Linked DNA regions of Homo sapiens: region 1 is linked to region 2. Evidence: promoter capture Hi-C in 16 types of primary human blood cells and fetal thymus (Javierre and others, 2016). All regions are on one chromosome and are shown on one strand. Each heading gives the region's core, a stretch centred on a gene start or on the middle of the fragment in contact. The rest is flanking DNA. Distances are from core to core; before and after follow the strand shown. Region 1 overlaps DNAJB11 (DnaJ heat shock protein family (Hsp40) member B11). Region 2 holds the start of TTC14 (tetratricopeptide repeat domain 14).

Region 1 (3,861 bases), core at 422-2,921, 6.0 Mb before region 2:
GTGAATTGTCTGCACTGATTTAACTGATATGGTTGGCTAGATGGAATGTCCTTTCAGTGCCATCAGTCTTTCCTGAAGCTTTGTGAAAATAGAAGACTATCTTCCCACAGGGAGGACAATAATTGATCTTTGGATCAGCTAAATTGTACTGTTCATCAAAAGTTTCTGAACTAGGGAATGAGAATAATTCTTTAATCGCTAAGTGACCCTCTCTCAGACACTAACACTTTGCAGATGGGTAAATTACTCACTGTGAAAAAATGTCTCCATGGGAGCTCTGATGACCATCTTTTAATCCTTCTTCACCATAAGTATCGTACTGTTTCCGTTTCTCACTATCTGACAGAACCTGGGGATAAAAGCCAGTGGAGGAAAAGATCATGAGTTGGTAATATCCAGTTAAGGCACAGTCATATTTATGTTTGTTTTTACTTTGACAGTGGGTCTAAAATTTTAATAGAATGCAGTTTCCATTATGTACTGTATTAAGGCATATTTACAAAGTTATTTTCTCTAAGACTAAATTCTTTGATGCACTGTTCATTCCACATTGCTCCATTCATGTTTTTAATTTAAAGTTCTCAAAACTCGTGTAGTCACTAAAAAATAATACCTGAGATTAGCAATGCAGCTGTGAAGGTCAGGGTGGTGACAGGAAAGAGTTAAGACGGATTCCTCAGGTTTACTTCCCATGCAGTTTGACTTTGGTGCTTATGCTGTTAACCACTATACTGCCTTCAGAACAACTTGGCCCCACAGGTCTATAACACCCCCTACCCAAAACACACACACACAGACACACACACACACACACACACACGCGCGCGCGCGCGCATGTATTAGGAGATTGTCAAGTCAAGGAAATCAAATGACAGGCCCTCCAGAGAGGCCTACACTGATATCTTTTCATCCTCCTTTTTTCATTTTTTGGTATATGCAGAAATCCATTTGTGGAAGAATTTTGCCTGCCATATATATATATGTTTAAGTTTGTAATGTCCTGAGTTTGAAATGCAGAAAGAGTAGTAAGTAAAAATACTCTATGAAGGTTATTCAAGGTCAATTTCATTGCTTGAAATAATTCTTGAAGTTTTAAGTTTCAGAGAACTACATACACAATCATGACTATATGCTTTCTCTCTGTATATTAAAGAATGTAACAACAAAATAAGCTTCCATCCTTTTCAAAATTTGCCTTCAACATGCAAAAAAAAACTTTCTCTTTTATTTAGAGCAATCTGATATATATGCACATATATACTTGTGAAAATTAAATGGCTTTAAAATCTTCCTTTGATATTTATAAACTCCTACTTAGACAAGAGTCTGAAGGAGAGAGTTATTTCAAAACCACACTCATGGTGGCCCAGAAAAAGAGAGGTTCAAAGTAGACGGGGCTTGTTGACTTAAAAGAAAGGCATATTCACACAGGACACATTTTTGGCTTAGGGCCCAAATGAGGTGTAAGGAGTCATGGCAAAAATGTATTAACATTTAAGATATCCTTGAAAGGATAAATAGAAATTGAGTATACAAGAGAGTGAACATTCTTAAAAGCAAAGGCAAATGGGTTATTCCAGAAGTGACCACAGTACTTGATTACAGCCACTATGAAAGAAAAAGGGAGAGGAAAGCATGTTTTCACAAGTATCTTTAGAAAATAGGTACTTTGGGGAAGCAGAAATGGGCACAATTAACTTGAAAAAAAAAAAAACCCTTATTATTAACTGGATCTCCAATATTTTCACTTTTAGTCTACTTCTCTGATCTGATCTTCACAAATAAATGAACCCTGCATTTGAGACTATAAAAAACACCATTTCAAAACCCCCAAAGACTAGTTTTAAGTCAGTTTCTTTTTAGACATCAGAGGCTTCTGTAATAACCCCCTAAAAACTACTCTTGAAGTCATTATCATTTACTTCCTCCTCACTTTTCTTCCATCAAGGAATGCAATTTTATTCTATGGTCTTGGAAACTATTTTAAAAGAAAAAAGGTTTTTAGTTGATTGGCCAACCAATACACAGATTCTCAAGTAATTAAAATGCCAGCAGTGATCCTAGCTCTGTAGAGAAAACAAATTTGTATTCACAAAAGATTCTTCATAACTGTACTCGGATTCTAATTTGTGAACACTAATTTACCTAAGACTAAAGGCAATCAAGCTTGAATGATAAAAAGAAAACAGAAATTTGAACTAGTGGCTAAAAGGATTGTTATAGTTAAATAAGCCACGATTTCATGACTGACCTTTGTATAGCCTGCCTAGGTCATTGATAAAGAACGTGAAGATTCTTTAGAGAGCATGGTAAATTCAGCTTCCCTAGAAAATGTTTTTGAGTATTAGGTTCCTAGCAAACAAGGGGACTATTCATGGAAAATACAGTGCAAAATATAGAATGCATATTATCAACAAGAAACAAAATATTACATATAATTTAGGATGGGCCATTAACCTTCCCAAGTTTATTGATGTGCCTCAGGTTAAGAATTTCTGTCCCTTGGCCAGGCACGGTGGCTCATGCCTGTAATCCCAGCACTTTGGGAAGCCGAGGCGGGTGGATCATGAGGTCAGGAGATCGAGACCATCCTGGGTAACACAGTGAAACCCTGTCTCTACTAAAAATACAAAAAATTAGCTGGGCATGGTGGTGCACAGCTGTAGTCCCAGCTACTCAGGAGGCTGAGGCAGGAGAATGGCGTAAAACCCAGGAGGCGGAGCTTGCAGTGAGCCGAGATCGTGCCACTCTACTCCAGCTTGGCAGACAGAGCGAGACTCTGTCTCAAAAAAAAATAAAAAAGAATTTCTGCCCCATAGGATCCCTGAAGGTGTTGAAAGATGAAAGGACCCCAACAGCTCTTGGGTTCACCTGGGTATAACTCACTGTTTCAATTCCATTGCTTCTTTAATCTAGAGATCTTGGGATTCCTTCCTTTCAAGGTTTGTGTCTTCCTAAAATATTTTTCAATTTGTTTTTAGCCTTCTCAATATACAAGAATTTAAACTTAAATTCAGGAGTTTTAGCTCTATGACTTTTAGTTCAATTAATTTTTTTCTGTGTCCATTTAGAAAATGAGAATAAAAATATGCCTAGCTCTAATATATTTCCTGGTGTCCTAGTGAAGATTAAATGAGATGATACACATGAGAGTGTTTTGATCCCCAGATTAGAGGTTGCAAAATCAAATTAAAACTGTGCTCTGTTTGATTTATGTAAAAAAGAAATTTAACTGAATTAGTTACCAACACTTTTACAAGCAGAACTCATATAAAAAATCTAGATTTTCAACTTTTCTTGAAAAATTAAATCATCCAGGAACATACTGTTTGCATTTGTATGACAAAAACTGGCTGGGGTTGAGTAACAGCTGCTCCCTTGAAATGGGGCCAGAAGGCTTCAGTTTGTCAAAGTCCTCAACAATCCTTATTGCTTCCCAATATGGAGGCAGAATATCTGCTGCCATGTTTTAACTTATACCTGCCCTGCATGTTATTTGTCTAGTTCATATGAACATGCAGGTTTGCAACTCTCATGAAGGCTTTCTTTTTATTTTTGGTTCTAGCTCCCAAACTGATTGAACGACAGACCAATCAGTTGATCTACTTATTAATCTATAATAAGTTCAAGACTAGCCTGGCCAACAGGGTGAAACCCTGTCTCTACTAAAAATACAAAAATTAGCCAGGTGTGGTGGCATGCACCTGTAATCCCAGCTACTTGGGAGGCTGAGGCGGGAGAACTGCTTGAACCCAGGAGGTGGACGTTGCAGTGAGCGGAGATTGCACCACTGCACTCCAGCCTAGGCAATAGAGACTCAGTCTCAAAATAAATAAATAAATAAATAAATGTGAGCTGAAA
Region 2 (3,787 bases), core at 384-2,883:
ACATTAGTTTAAATTCAGGACTATCCATCTTGGGCAAAGTATCTTAATATAATGTACAAACCACTTACATTTAATTATTGTAAATATATAAATGAAACTTCTCTCCAAATTATCCACATGAAAATATACAATGCCAAATATTAACTAATTAAGAATACATATGTTCAACTACAAGAAATAAGTCTGAATATCAATCAACCTCACCACGTCCACTGATACCTCTTTGAGCATTTAGAAAAGAACACTGTGCCTGCCAACCAGTTTAAATTTAAAAAATCCCAAAAACCAGAAATGGAGGGAGAAACTGGGTAACTTACACTAATTTTTTTAAACTATTTTTCTCCAATTAACATTTAATTTCCAAAAGCATCTTGGCAGGTATACTTGAGCACAACTGCATGCAAAGATATAGTTCTTGCATTGAGATGCGTTAACAAAAACAGAAGCAATCCAAGTAACAAAAATAACTTACTGTGATTTCTAAGTGGGCTATATCTCTCATGATACCACTTCCTAAACAGATCAACACCATGAAAAAACCGAATTCCCGAATAGAACTAATTCTTCCAATCACTATATCACCACGCTCAATATCTCGGAAAAACAGCTCTCTCCGATCCATACTAGGTATCTCCATGAATTGCTCTAAAGGTGGCATGATTGCATAATGATCTAAAAAAAAAAAATTAACAAAATCACTAACGATAGTTTTGAGTTCCGTTTCACCTGAAGTACTGTTAAACCGAACCGCAATCTTAAAGATTTTAAGGCTAAACTGACCTTCACTGTCTTCATTAATTTCAGAAGTTGCAGGTGCATCTGATTTCCAGGAAAGTGCAAAAAGCAGATCCGCTTTTTTGGAGATGAATTTCTGTATCTCGATGTTGTCAACTCTCTTCTCTTTTCTTAAAAAGAAAAAAATATATATGAAAATTGGGTTATCTGCAAAGCCTCTTTACTTCTAACCTTCTGCTTATGGCTTTCATCGCCCATTCCGCTCCATCCTAAGCTGCAGACAATACAACCTCAGACAAAAAGTTTTAACTAGGCATTCCCTCATTAACCAACCTGGAGGTGGAGAGCGGGGAAACTTAAAAAGTGACGCCTCCAACTCAGATAGGAAAGCTCAAGGGATTTTTAGCTAAGGAATCTGCGCCTCTACCAAGCAGTGCCAGAGAAAAAGTTCAGCCCGCATCCCGCATTGCACAACCCAGGAGCGCCCCCCGTCCACCCAGCCCAAGACACCAGCGCGCGATCGTCCTGTGCTCACGGCCGCGGCTCCACTTCCTCTAGACGCAAACCCGGGGCTGCGGTAGTGGCTGCCAGAGCTGCGTCCCCTCTTCCGTGGCGCAGTGGCACCAACGTCTCATTACCTGCCCTGCAACGGGTGCTGGGGCGGCGGGCCCCGGGCTGGCTCGGCGGCCGACCCCAGGAGGCTACGGAAGTGTGGATTGTCCTGCTGTTCGCTCCGAAGTAGAGAGAGCAAAGACGACCCGTGGCAATTTAGCGACTGCCGCAAAAGGTCCCGGTCCATGGCTAGAGAATGCAGGGCCCGGAGGCCGACGGGCTGATAGTTCCCTGTTCCGTGTCCGCTACTTGAGCCGGGTGGTACAGGAAGCGGAAGAAACTGTCTGGAGGCTGCCGGAAGTACACAGACAGCACAACCAGTTACACCCGGAAGTGTTCTGGGGTCGCCCCCACGGCGGCGCGGCGGAGCTCAGCCTCGATCTCGCGAAACCGAGCGAGACTACGGAAGGCCGAAGGATTGGGCTCAGCATTGCTTGGGCTAAAGGCTGACTAGGGCTTCCAGGAAGTGATGTATGTGAGAAGTTTGCTTTTTAAAGTGTACGTGGGATCGTTATTACGTCGAAATAGCTCGAGCTGTAACCTAGGGTAAATAATAATTCCTTTTCGTATTCATCAAGGTGCTTCTAAGTGCCAGTGCCAGGGTAAGAACCCTATACGAGTCTCCAAGCTTCTTCCCTCGACGTACTCTCTGCGTAAATCAATACCTGTGTCTCTGGCGTAACCCCATTCAACCGGCTGCTCCGGGAAGGTTTCCAGGTGGTTTTAAGGGCAGAAGAAAGGAAGGACACGGACATTTGTTAAGCACCTGGAGTGGTGTTCTCCATCCATACCCCATTTACTGTTAGTGATTGTGAATTCTAAAACCAGGATGGCTTTAATGTCTCCACACGTGCATATGCCATTCAAGTTTTACAATAACTAATGAACACATGCATTTCTTATTTAGTTTATCTCAATGGTTGCTCAAAATTTAGTGTCTGTGGGACTTACTGTATAGTGGTATGTACGCAAAAGTCAATATACTGTTCTTATGGACAATTCAAGTGATTTTCAAAGGGAATTTCAACTTAGGTCCCCCATCCCCTTACTTACTGACTTGAGAACCTAACCACTATGGTAGCTATTGTACTTTTTCATTTTAGAAAACGAGGAAACATGCTCAGAGAGTCCCAGTAAATTGCTCAATGGCACACAGCTAGTAAGAGGCTAGAGTTAGGATTCCAAACGAAGTATTAATTGGTCTTCTCAGGCAGAGTTGCTGGATTGAGTATTTTATCATATGGAAGGTCTAACTAACCCTAATTTTGAGATCATGTAGCTTCGTTTTATTCCAGTATAAAATTTGTACCATTTAAATATGTTCAGTGTAAATAGTTCAGTATAGTCCTCTTGAACAGAAATAAACGGTGACAGTTAGTCTCTCCACTTCCCACCATGTGTCTTTGAGGAAATCAACTTGCCTTTCACTGTGTTACCACTTTTGTATAGGAGATCTAGCCCAGAACATAATCGATACTGCCACACTGTTTTGTGGAAAACCCAGGCAAATAGGTAAACAGTTTGAGACTTGAGAAAATGCAACAAACAAGAATGCAACTGTAAAAGATAAATTTGGGTTAGGCACGGTGGCTCACACCTGTAATCCCAGTACTTTGGGAGGCCGAGGGTGGATCACTTGAGGTCAGGAGTTCAGAGACCAGCTTGGCCACCATGGCCTAACCCCGTCTCTACTAAAAATACAAAAATTAGCCGAGCGTGGTGGCTCATGCCTGTAGTCCCAGCTACTCGGGAGGCTGAGGCACGAGAATCTCTTGAACTCCGGAGGCGGGGGTTGTAATGAACTGAGATCGCGCCACGGCAGTCCAGCTTGGGCGCCGGAGGGAGACTCCGTCTCAATAAATAAATAAATAAATAAATTTCAAGCTTCTATAGGCATATCAACTTTAATAAATGGTACAGACTGACTTGTTTTAAGCCATAACTCTAGAGAATGGTTGTTTTTAGGAAAGAGTGCTGTCACTGAAAAGGAAAGCTGACCACTAAAAATTATTATAGACATCTTGATAAGTATGTGATTTGTGTTAGAGTCAATCTGTGATCAAGGACCTCATTTTTTGGAGGGACTAAGAAACCGGTGTCTGAGAACCAGACACCAAATAGTGTTACTTAGCCTGGGAATGTCACCTTCTGAGGCCATTCTTCAGTAGCACATGGTTTTATCACTATGGGATCTGTCTATACTTCTTCCTAATTCCAACACTAGGATAACCCTCCCCCACCTCATACCTTGAACATCTGAAATGGCCGTGAACATAGAAAGCAGCTCCTTTTAGGGGGTAAACAGCATTTATCAAGAGTGATATTTTTCGTATAGTAGTGACAGAAGAAATGCACTTTAAGCAAATGTACTCAAAACTCAGCGTGGGATTTTCTGTCTTTGGTTAGTTCCTTATGTGAAAGTAGCCACATTAGTTGGGTG

Evidence for each region. The method cuts DNA at HindIII sites, captures the fragments that hold promoters and counts their contacts. A CHiCAGO score of 5 or more calls a contact.
Region 1: a contact is called between a fragment that was not itself captured here and the fragment with the promoter of TTC14 in region 2, in 1 of 17 cell types (naive CD8 T cells). The highest score is 5.4, in naive CD8 T cells.

Annotation. Positions count from the first base shown.
Region 1 is chr3:186,572,328-186,576,188 of GRCh38, reverse strand. DNAJB11 (DnaJ heat shock protein family (Hsp40) member B11) reads right to left here. Exons shown (of 10, transcript NM_016306.6): 3 at 252-349. Among named protein-coding and RNA genes, the nearest start is that of DNAJB11, 3.5 kb to the right of the region's middle. The HindIII fragment of the contact is 994 bases long and covers 1,175-2,168 here.
Region 2 is chr3:180,600,009-180,603,795 of GRCh38, reverse strand. TTC14 (tetratricopeptide repeat domain 14) reads right to left here and starts at 1,633. Exons shown (of 12, transcript NM_133462.4): 1 at 1,374-1,633; 2 at 781-905; 3 at 473-672. The coding sequence starts at 1,534. TTC14-DT (TTC14 divergent transcript) reads left to right here and starts at 1,683. Exons shown (of 3, transcript NR_183700.1): 1 at 1,683-1,893. RefSeq lists an enhancer at 1,553-1,842. The HindIII fragment of the contact is 2,365 bases long and covers 1-1,977 here.